Linked DNA regions of Homo sapiens: all the other regions are linked to region 1. Evidence: promoter capture Hi-C in human tissues and cell types (Jung and others, 2019). All regions are on one chromosome and are shown on one strand. The core of a region is centred on a gene start or on the middle of the fragment in contact, and the rest is flanking DNA. Distances in the headings are between cores, read along the strand shown. Region 1 holds the start of NDN (necdin, MAGE family member). Region 2 overlaps SNHG14 (small nucleolar RNA host gene 14). Region 3 overlaps UBE3A (ubiquitin protein ligase E3A). Region 4 has its middle 72 kb from the start of NPAP1.

Region 1 (2,751 bases), core at 21-2,520:
AAGCTTACATATAAACAAACATGCATACATCCTAAATACTACACAATAGTACCCAAATGAATACAACATTGCATTAAAGGTATAAAAGCACTGTACTGAAAACTTAAAAGTTACACGTGAATACTGCACTGTAAATCCTGAATACTATAATGACCCACCCCCACCCTTCCACAGCCCTGGTGAGGGTCAGAAACCATTCATCTGCCTCCAGACTTTGCTAGTCCTCAGAGACACTGCTGCGAGGGTAGTGGGCAGTGGGATTAGCCTCCCGCAGAGCTCTGGCCTCCTCCAGAGCTTCTCTGTATCGGGAGGGCCAGGCCTGGGGGTCTTTCTTAAAGACCCTGGCCAGGAACTCCATGATTTGCATCTTGGTGATTTCGCGGCTGGCCCGGGAGCCCCAAAAGAACTCGTATTCGGGCGGCTCCACGTATGGGACGCGCTGGTACTTCAGGTAATTCATTTGGACGAACTCCTCAGTGATGAGCTTCCGCACGTCCCCGAAGGTGGAGTGCTTCTTCCAGGGCCGCAGCCCCAGGATGCGCAGCACGTTCCAGACGGCGCTCTCTCTGGCGCCGCGGCCCTTCACGTAGATGAGGCTCAGGATCATGAGCAGGAGGCCTGTCATGGGCATGCGGTTGCTCAGCGCCACCCTGTCCAGCTCCTCGGGCTCCAGCGCTTTGACCAGCGCAAACTCCATGGTGTGCAGGCTGGTTAGCCTCAGGTGCAGCCCGAACACCCGGGCGAGGATGAGGCTGGTGCGCCGGAGGATGCTCCTGCACCACTTCTTGTAGCTGCCGATGACATCTTTCACCATGTCTGGAAACCAGATGATCATCTTCTTCTGGTCCTTGACCAGCACGTACCACATGAGCTCGTGCGCCTTCTGCACCAGCTGCGCCGGGGCTGGCGGTGCCGGGCCCGGCTGGGCCGCGCTCGGGGCCTGGTGGGCGCGGCCCTCCTCCGCAGCCTGCTGCAGGGCCTTCGGGTCGCCCTCGTCGTTCGGGGCCTGGGGAGGCGGCGCGGCCTGCGGAGCGGCCGTCGGGCCTAGAGGAGGGCTCTGCGGCTCTGCCAGGGTCGCGGACGGAGGAACCCCCTCCGAAACCCCAGGGCTGCTGTGCACCTCGGAGTTGGGGGCCTCGGCTGCAAAGTTAGGGTCGCTCAGATCCTTACTTTGTTCTGACATGTCTGCGCCGTCTGGCAAGGGCAGGGCCTCTGCGTCCAGGAGCTCTTCGAGCCTGCGCTCCCTCCGCGGATTCCTGGAGAGGAAGTGCGCGTTGCTGCGCGCGGCGCCTTCCGCAGCGACGGGCAGGGCGGGGCGGCGGCGGGACGCGGCACTGCGCCTGCGCGACCGCGGCCTTGGCCAGCGGCTGGGGGCGGGCGGGGCAGCGCGGGGCCCCGACGGGGAGGGTCCATGGCGAGGCTTCACCTGCTGGGAGAGCGATCCCGGGGTTTCCTGTTTGGGCTGAGAAGATCTAGGGCAGGAGAGAAGTGAGATGGATGCGTACTGGAGAAGGGGCCAGTTTAAGGGAAAGATACCTTAAGTTTTTGGGATGTTGGGGTCAAGTTTCTTGGGAAACGCTTACCTGGGTATATCCAGAATTAAGTTAAATATGAGAGTCCCAGAGAAAGGTCTGGGCGGCTTTGTAAACATGAGCTTTATGCGAACCAGTGAGAGGAACAGTCGGGCTTGTCCAAGAAAATGTGTAAACTGTAAAGTGGATGTCTGAGGTTGGAATCCTGAGAAATTCCAATAAAAAATGATCGACTCCCTACCAAATCAGATAGGCTATAAGAAAAGGGGAAATGCAGTGTGTCGTTAACGTAATTTCCTATCAACCCATGTGAACTATGAACTTTTTAAGTAGGCAGTGGACTTAGAGCATCATTAATGCTTTAACGGGCATAAATTTGGGTTTTACACTTCCTTTGGGTAACTTTGATTCCATTTTATTTTTTTCCATACTTAGTCCATAGCAGAAGGATTGCTATATCTTTTAGCACAAACTTGTATGATAATGTCTTTTCCCTCTGCCCAGCACCCTCATTCTTCAATTCACCTTCTCTCAGGACCCTCTCTGAAGCTACTGAGTCCTCCACGTTGGAAGCCACACCCAAGTCTTTCCTGAGATTTAAAAAAAAAATAGGTCCCATGGGTAATATCTGGTAGTGTCTCTGAGATGACCAAAGGGTAGCAGGGGAAACATAGGTAACCCTGTTTTCCAGGTATGGAAAACAGATTCCCAGTGGGCAAAGACAAAACTGTCACTCCTACAGGCTCTCCATGAAAAAAAGGGTCATTGCCTGAGCATCTGAAACCAGGGACCTTAATGCTGCTTCAGCATCCTTGGTCTGGGCTGATGTGGTCCTTCAGCTCTTCCCGGGTTTCTTCTCATCAGCAGCTTCTTAAATATGCTGTCTTGAATCTAGTTATTGCCACTCGAAGCCAAAAGCATATTTAAAAATTGTCTTGACATGTCTAGAGTCCTCACTGTGAGTATGTATCTTTTCCCACTTTATTTTTCCTCAAGCAGGTTGATGTTGAAAGGTTTTCTGTGCTTTCTCTCTTTGGGTTTGCACGCACATAACACTTTTGGCAGAGCCATTACCACACCAGTCCCTCCAACAGGACTCTTAAGCTTCCCACTTCACCAGGGTAATTCCTAGATATCAGTCTTAGTTGGAATTATTTCAACACTTTTCTCCTCCTCCTCACCCTCCTCCACCTCCTCCTTCTCCTCTCCATCTACTTCT
Region 2 (2,781 bases), core at 218-2,717, 1.5 Mb after region 1:
CTCAGATGCTTGTTAGAACTTATCCAGGACTGCTTGCAGGACCCAAAATACTAATAATCCATATGCCTTTTTTTCCAGCTGAAATTAGCTGTCTTAAGAGTTGTTTTTCAGTGCTCTGAGGATATCCACAAATATATCCCAAGGCACTCTGAAGTGTGTTTTCAATCTTTGGCCCTGCACACTGGGGATGCCCACTGGATGTTGCATGGAGTGTTGCCTCCAGTTGACTTTGATAGACACAATAAACACCACGTGAGAGCCCCCTCATGAAGGAGGGCTGAGGACTTGGAGTCCAATTCTCCACCTCCCCTGACAGATAGGCTATTCAATGCCTTGGGAATCCGACATGAAGGACTGCTTATAGCAGTCCTTGAAAACTTTCTACAGAATGTGAACTGGGAGAAGCTAAATGCTGTACTCACAAGCTGGGTGACTTCTCCATTGATTTTTACCATAGCTCACTGAAACATTTTCTAAATTAACAGGTATAAATTCACAGACAGATCAGAATAGATCCTTGGTCCTTTCCATTTTTCTGGCACTTTTGTTGCCAGGAATTCAAATACAACTAAGAGAAAAAGTGGGTAGCTAGCAAGAACAGATAGTTTCTCAAATATTAGTGGCAGTAACCCAACTTTGAGAAAATATGGAGAAAGAGAAGAAAAAACCCTTAAGACTGCAGTGTTAGCTGCCCAGTTACAATTATTCACAAAGTGAGCAAATACTTATTTGGGCCACCAATAAATAAGAGGGCACAAGCTAACGGGAAATTAATACGTCACTCATGTAAAAAGTCAACACATTAGAAAAAGGAATCTTGGATGAGATTGAGAAAGATGCAAGGGATAAAACCTGACAAGCTTTACAACCTCCTTGAGGAGGTCTTCCCTACTCTGTAAAATCAGACAGAAAATCATTGGCAAATGGAGCAAAGCATGGGCAAAACTGATATAATGAGGAAACAGAGCTGGGAAAGGATAAATTTATGTGTCTGTTTCTGTTTCCTATCTTTTAATCCTTTTTTACCCTTTCTTCTGGATACTGGAGCAACGTATTCTGCAATTTCTACAGGCCTTTTCTGTTTTATCCTAAACTAGGAAAATATCCAGATATAAGTATTTCTGGACTATCTGCTACCTCTTCTTTCTCCTCTGAGGTTTTCATGCAAATAGGCGAGGTCCTATTTGCATAAAATAGGAAGAATATGCCTTGTCTCCTAATATGCCCAATAATCTTTTAAGAAAGGGCCTGCTGTGTAAACCAAGGGCTATGATCTTCTGTACTCTGAAGAGAGTGCTTTTGGAGCTTCTGGGATGCAAGGTATCTACATTGCTAAATATGTGCTTTCTGAAACAAAAGATGGCTGTGGGAGAGTAGGAGTCTCACTCAATGCTGGAGAAGCACTCCCAAGTTACAGAAAATAAACCCATATCTATGAGTCCTAGGAACAAATGATAAAGATTTAACAAAAGAGATCAATACCATTGTTGTAACTTACAACAGAGAAAAACCTTGGCCATGTATAGAACATTTTCTCTATTTTTACCTCAAATATGATGTAATTAGAAAAATTTTAAAAAACGTGGCATAGTTAAAAAAAAATGGCACATTCACTTCATAATGCTTCCATATTGCCTGTGGGAAAGTTAGGAAAACTTGACAGGGAAGGTCAAACTGTTTATAGATTTATGCATGATCTTAGAGAAACAAGTTGTGATTCCTCTGACACTTGTAATTCCCAGCCTTGCCACTGTTTTAATATCTGTTCCTGAGTTATCTAAGTATTTTTCTGTCATGGATTTATGTTCAATGTTTTGTTCTCCATGTTTAGCTGGGGAGTCGAGGTTCCTGTTTGAGTTTACCTGTGGAGCGGGAGGCTTTCAATATTTGTGGCAACGGATCTTCCTGGAATTCAGAGAGTCACCTACTCCATTCTCTGGGCATTTATAAGAAAATATAAAGAATATTCCTCACATTAGGATTCCATACTAATTGTTATTGATAGCTGCTAATAACTTACATGCTAGTAAAGAAGACATTTTAGCTTTACTAAATTTCTTAGACTCCCAGGACGTAAAACCTCGCTAGCTAAGTTGCAATATTACCAACTGAAGTAAAATATTTGGGATCTGTGTTATTGGCAGATGGAAGGTGGTTGCATCTTGAAGTCAGCCTAATATACAAATGAAACAACATGCCAAAAAAAAACTTCACCGATTTTGAGGATTAATTGTAGATCTTTGCGTTTTATGAAAAGGCTAAGCCTCTCACTGAGATGTTACATGAAACATCACTAGAACTCTTTATTAAAGTCAAAATAAGGCTGAAGAAGTCTTTTATGCCCTTAAAATAGCTGCTATTTCTTCACTTGTATTACTTTTTTAACCTTGTTAAAAAAGGAGTTCTACCTTTTCTGTCTTGAGATTAAGGGTTACTCCAAAATTAGGCCTTGATTATAGGCACATTGCTTACTTTCCCAGGTTCTTGTATTTTGTCTCTCTGGAAATGCGATGATATTTATAAGGTACAGTGGCAACCACTCCCCTGATTAAAAAGGCTCATTCAGTCCTTGACTCTGAGAAATTTAACTTACTTACAGGTACTTCATGTTGTTACTGCTATTTTACAAGTTCATAAGACACAACACTTGTCAGTATGCTGTCAAACGAGCTAAGAACAAGTCTTATTGTGTGATCCTAATGCTATTCTAGGAAGGTGTAACCTTTTGACAGCTATTCTGTGGCCAGATCTTGACAGAATAAGTTGAACTTGACTGTCTCA
Region 3 (2,903 bases), core at 100-2,599, 1.7 Mb after region 1:
AAGGCTTCAAAAGCTAAATAACCTGCTCATGACCATTACGAAGCTAGTTAAAACAACCTCAAGACCAAAAGACAGTGCTCATTCCATTTCAATGACTCTGATGCACTTAAAATTTTATAAATAATTTTTAGGGATATCAGTCATAAGGCTTAGAATCAAATAGTAACGACTCATGTACAAAGACCAGTATTTTTTAAAAATGCTCAGCTGGGCATGGTAGCTCACACCTGTAATCCTAGCACCTTGGGAGGCCAAGCCGCTTGAGACCAGGAGTTTGAAACCAACCTGAACACGGCAAGACCCCATCTCCACAAAAAAATTAAAAAATAAAAAAATTAGCCAGGCATGGTGGCATATGCTAATCCCACCTACTCAGGAGGGTGAGATGGGAGGATCACTCCAGCCTGAGACTGCAATGAGTTATGACAGCACCACTGCACTCCAACTTGGGCAACACAGCGAGACCCTGTCTCTAAACAAATAAACAATAAGTAAAATAAACAAAAAGAAAATGCTAACTTTACTTCACTCTCAGATAGGCCTAATAATTAATAAGCTTCTTTTTGAATTATTATCCATAATGGCATTTACCTGTTATTGATAACTCAGATCAAAGCACTACTAAGCAACATTTTTGATAGCAAATGAAAACAAAAGCTGGCAAAGAAACTGTGTATTAATAAGTCATTTGATTAAAAAAAAGGACTTGGCCAGGTATTGTGGCTCATGCCTGTAATCCCAACACACTGGGAAGCTAAAGTAAAAGCTGAGGAGTTCAAGACCAGCCTGGGCAACACAGTGAGACCCCCATCTCTATAAAACAAAAATTTTTAATATTATCTTTTTACAAAGGACTTATTTATATGGCATCTTCAAGTATTTCAAACATTTCGTGTTTGGATTATGGAATATGTCTCCAGAAGAATTAACACTATTTCTATTTAAGGTAATTTTACATCATTTCCTTTATTAGAAGAAATAACAGATCTGCAGATGGCATTTTGTGAAGGCTGCCTTCTATTAATAGTGTACAAAACACTCATATGTCTCCAAAAAGGTGGGTGAGTAATCACAAAGCAAGTATAACTATTCATCCCAAAAGGTAGGACAGAACATGTGCCAATGTGTGCAGAGTCCTGAACTAGAGACATGGACTCTGGTTCTGGTTCTGACACCTGGGTGACTTTAAGAAAATCATTTTAAAGCTTTGCACTCCAATTTCCTCTTGTATAAAATGACTGGAGCAGCTGACCTCATAGACAATCCTACTCAGGTAGCATCTATCCATGTACTGCCAGAAGACAGAATGATAATCATGCCCCCCAAAATTAGAGTATTTGAAGACAACTGCCGGAGTAAAAATTTTAAATTCTATATACATACACACACACACACACACACACACACACACACACACACACACACACACACAAATACTAATACACTACGTGCCAGATACTGGGGTGGTGGGCTGGGACCAAGGAATGAAGTAATGCATGTGCCAGAGGGTTGAACTTTTTAAAAGGAGTAAAAAAGTAAATCTTTACAGTAGCAGCTGGTGGGTAGGAGGTATTGAGTCCATAGAACTGCTCTTAGATTGGAAGGGCATGGGAAAATGAAGTTCCATTATGTGATAGGGTTTTACACACACACACACACACACACACACACAAATGTGAGAAAGTCACTCAACTATAAGCATTCAAAAAAGACAGACATCTTTCTTGTCTTTGTGGGTCCTGTACTTAGCTCAGCTCATAGAAGCCACAGGAGGAACCTAATAAATGTTAGTTGATCATTTACTGATTTACCAATAACCAATTCATGCCTGCTCTAGTGCTGTGGTCTGAATGTGTCCCCCAAAATTCATGTTGAAAGCCTAACCTCCAAGGTGATAGTATTAAGAGGTGGGGCCTTTGGGAAGCTTTGCCATCATTAATGGAATTAATGCCTCTATAAAAGAGGCCCTATAGAGCCCCGTCTACTCTTCTACTACATGAGGTAATGGTGAAAAGACAGCTAGCTATCTATGAACAAGGGAAGAGGGCCCTCACTAAGATGTCAAATTTGTTGGTACCTTGATCTTGGACTTCTCAGCCCCCAGAACCGTGAGAAATAAACTTCTGTTGTTTATAAGCCATGCTGTCTGTGGTGTTTTGTAATAGCAGCCAGAACAGACTAAGACATCTAGTAACACATTCTCTGGTAAACACTAGGAATTCCTGGCCTTAAAAAGTTCATAGCTAATGAGAAAAGAAATAAACAACATAAAGGATAACATGCTGTAGTCCACTACATACAAGGTGCTTCCAGACCATTCAGAAAAACTGGATAGGAAGATTTCTAAGGTAATACTTATTGAGTGCCTACGTGTTAGGCGTTTTACATACTTTAAGCCTCACAACTCTGGGGAAGTTTCACCAACCCATTTTACAGATGACAAAACTGTGGCTTACCAAGATTAATAAGGCCAGAATTAAAATTAGGGTCTAATTCCAAAGATATTACCACTATACATACCAAGATGTCTTGTTACTACATTTTATCCTTACATTTGGCAGTGAGGGGAAAACTCAAAAAGCAGTCAAAAAACTTTTGTCCTGAACCAACATAAAAAGAGCACCTAAGACTTCATCCAGTATTTTACCGAAAGATCACTTCTAAAAGTTTGTCTTCACCCCGATCTAAAAATTAGAAAACTAATTTTCTTTCAGCAGCTGCATATGTACATAATGTAATGTTTCTACATTTAGACCTACACAATTATAAGTCTAAACAAAATATGTGTAACATGATTGGAGAACATAACTAGCAGTCATTTAAGAAAATGGACATTTGGAAACATCATTTCAAGAGCTTGGGATGAAAAATTTTGCTATGACCTATAAATCTGGATCATTCCA
Region 4 (2,721 bases), core at 159-2,658, 1.1 Mb after region 1:
ATTTTTTCAAGCATCACAATTTCCTAATAAAATGAAAAATATCACTTTTATTAGGAAAGACAGGTGTTACATACTCTCTGTTATAGTGTTTTCCAGAAATTTTCTATAAAATACCTATGGTTGAAAAGGAGAATTACTTGGACTTTTCTGAGAGCCAAAAGGTAAAATTTGCTAAGAGCCTCAGGCTTATAAAAACAGTGAATGTTTGTATGACTTAGTCTGTTGTGATTGTGAAAGGTTAAAAAGGCATTGGTTTGTGTAGATAAAACACTGAGACTCATTTTTAAAGCAAAGGCCAGCCACAATGTTACTCACAATGTTACTGTGCATGTATGAACATCACATTGTTTGCTTTTTCCTTGACCCAAAAGCTATAAACTTTGGCAGGAGACTTTAATTCCTTCCACCTTACTTTCACAAAGGTAAACATGGCATTTTTGTACAAGTGAACCATAAGATAGATATGTATACTTTTCTTGTAATTTGATAAGTGATTACTAAAATTACTTTCAATGAAATGAAAAATGCCACTAAGGAAAACTGTACATACATCTCCAGGTGGAATATATTTTTGTAATAGGTTCTCTTGGAAAGAAAATTGAAACCTTTATTTATCACCTAACAAAGTATTTTTGAAAGTTCTCATGCTTGTGTTTTTAGAATTTTATTTTTGTTGATTCAGTCAATAATTTTCTCCATTTTCTATTGCTTAAATGTACATTCATGTCCATTGTTTTTTAGGCTCAGACTTTGACAGTCCTCTGATATACTTTATATGTAAATAGATGGCTGAGTGTTCTGGCTGATGAACATGGGTTACTTAACCAGAGTTAAGCGAGGACTTTCTCACCTGAAACCACCAAGAGACACAAAAGCCAGAAAAGGACAGAAATTAATTCAAGGGTCAACAAATAGAGTCGGCTTTCTTTAAGACCTGAAGTGTAGAAGTCTAGGTTGAACCCTAGGTTGATTACGTTGAAGACTACATTCTCCTGTGAAGCAAGCATTCCTAAAGGGTAAGGCTATGAGACACAATAGTGCATGCTGGCTATGCAAGTGATGAGATGGCCAAGCTAACAGTCCAAAAACTATCCTGGGGAAGGGGCAGTCATTTGTTCAAGATTCCTGAAATGTGAGGAAGCAACAAAGAGCAGACACACTTTATGGGTAATTTTACTCCAAATTAATAGATGGGCACTTGTTTTGTATGCTGTTTTACAAACTGCCTTCGTTTTCTTATGAATATGCCATTAGGATTTGTGAAATGGGTATCATGACGGTTTAGATTTGCATTTCATCGAGGACTAATATTGTTGAGCATCTTTGCATTGTACATTTGTATAGCTTCTATGGAAAAATGTCTATTCATAGAATTTGTCCACTTTTAACTAGAATGTTTTTCTTTATATCTTTGACTTATAAGAATATTTTACAGATTATGTACAATAGACCCTATCAGCTACATGATTTGTAAATATTTTCTCCTATTGTTACAGGATTCCTTCAGTGCTGCTTTGCCAGCCGGGAATCTCTGCAGCCATCGCCACCTCTGCCCGGGTCTCATTCAGACCCACTGGGTTCGCTCTGCCCACTCAGCCCGGCACGCTGTGCTCTGCTCTCGCCCCAGCCCAGATCCCACGGCCCCTGTGGCTCCCCACTCAGCCTGCAGCTGGACTGGGAGTGCCATAAGTGAATTCCGGTTGGGGGCCAGCATCCAGACAAGGGGAATGTGGTGGCACCTGAAAACGGAGGTGACAGCAGTTGCAAAGCCCCAAGGGGTGTTACAGCTCTTGCTTGGGGAGCCCTGAGGTCTGAGCCCCACAGGAATGTTGCAGCTCTTCACTCCTGTAGCTCATAGCTCAGTGAGCTGCGGCATATTACAGCTCTCTTTCTCCTATAGTCCAACCAGCAGGAGCATGTTACCAGCCCTTTGATTCCCGTTATTTCCAGCTTGGTGAGCAGAAGGGAGTGGCACTCAGTGGCTGTTTCTCTCGGTGAGCAGAAGGAAGTGTTACAGCTCATTTTAATCCCACCATTCAGTGAGTTCCAGGTTCTTGTCCCACGACCAGGAGGAATGAGTAACGTGGACACTGGAGAGTGAACAAGGCAGAGAATAATTTTATTGAACAACAGAAAAGCTCTCAACAACGAGACAGGACCCAAAGTGGGTAGCCGACTGTGAGGCTGAGTCCGGGAGTTTTTATGGGTTTGGAATGAGGAGGTGCAGGCTGTAGGTAGTCTTGGGAAAGGCAACATTTGATTGGTTAAAAAGCATTATTCCAAAAAACCAATCAGTAAAGAGTGGGCAAGCATGAATAGAAGTTCTCACTCTGGTCCATGGACTCTCTCCAGAACTGGTAGTTTGGTTTTCAGGCTTCAGACTGTCCTTGGCTTGAAGGTCAATTTTCACCAGAGAACCCATCCCCGTCTGCCTAGGAATTTGTCTGCCTCCTGTGGCTATCACTATTATTTGGGTGGTCTTGATAGTGTAGTTTGAATAACGAAAGTTTTAAATTCTGTTGAAGTTCAATTTATTCTTCCTGCTTCTATCACTTCTATTTTGTGTGATAACTTAGACTGTATTATTTGACCTAAGGCCACAAAAGCAGATACATATATTGTCAATCACAGGTTTCATAGTATTAGTGATGGCAGCAGTGGGCCATCCGGAGCAGCTGCTGTTGTCATGCTGGCCACTGTGGGGAGGGCACAGGAGGAGGC

What was found. Contacts are between HindIII fragments. The study calls those that stand out against the background at their distance.
Region 2: a fragment that was not itself captured here is called in contact with the fragment with the promoter of NDN in region 1 in 2 of the 25 tissues and cell types used here (heart left ventricle and mesendoderm cells).
Region 3: a contact is called between a fragment that was not itself captured here and the fragment with the promoter of NDN in region 1, in 1 of the 25 tissues and cell types used here (dorsolateral prefrontal cortex).
Region 4: a fragment that was not itself captured here is called in contact with the fragment with the promoter of NDN in region 1 in 1 of the 25 tissues and cell types used here (mesenchymal stem cells).

Annotation. Positions count from the first base shown.
Region 1 is chr15:23,686,035-23,688,785 of GRCh38, forward strand. NDN (necdin, MAGE family member) reads right to left here and starts at 1,271. Exons shown (of 1, transcript NM_002487.3): 1 at 1-1,271. The coding sequence starts at 1,183. The coding sequence ends at 218. The HindIII fragment of the contact is 8,447 bases long and covers 1-2,751 here.
Region 2 is chr15:25,159,637-25,162,417 of GRCh38, forward strand. All of the region lies in intron 61 of SNHG14 (small nucleolar RNA host gene 14), which reads left to right. Among named protein-coding and RNA genes, the nearest start is that of SNORD115-1, 9.7 kb to the right of the region's middle. The HindIII fragment of the contact is 4,579 bases long and covers 1-2,781 here.
Region 3 is chr15:25,433,589-25,436,491 of GRCh38, forward strand. All of the region lies in intron 1 of UBE3A (ubiquitin protein ligase E3A), which reads right to left. Among named protein-coding and RNA genes, the nearest start is that of UBE3A, 4.0 kb to the right of the region's middle. The HindIII fragment of the contact is 3,349 bases long and covers 1-2,903 here.
Region 4 is chr15:24,745,963-24,748,683 of GRCh38, forward strand. No RefSeq gene overlaps it. Among named protein-coding and RNA genes, the nearest start is that of NPAP1, 72 kb to the left of the region's middle. The HindIII fragment of the contact is 8,881 bases long and covers 1-2,721 here.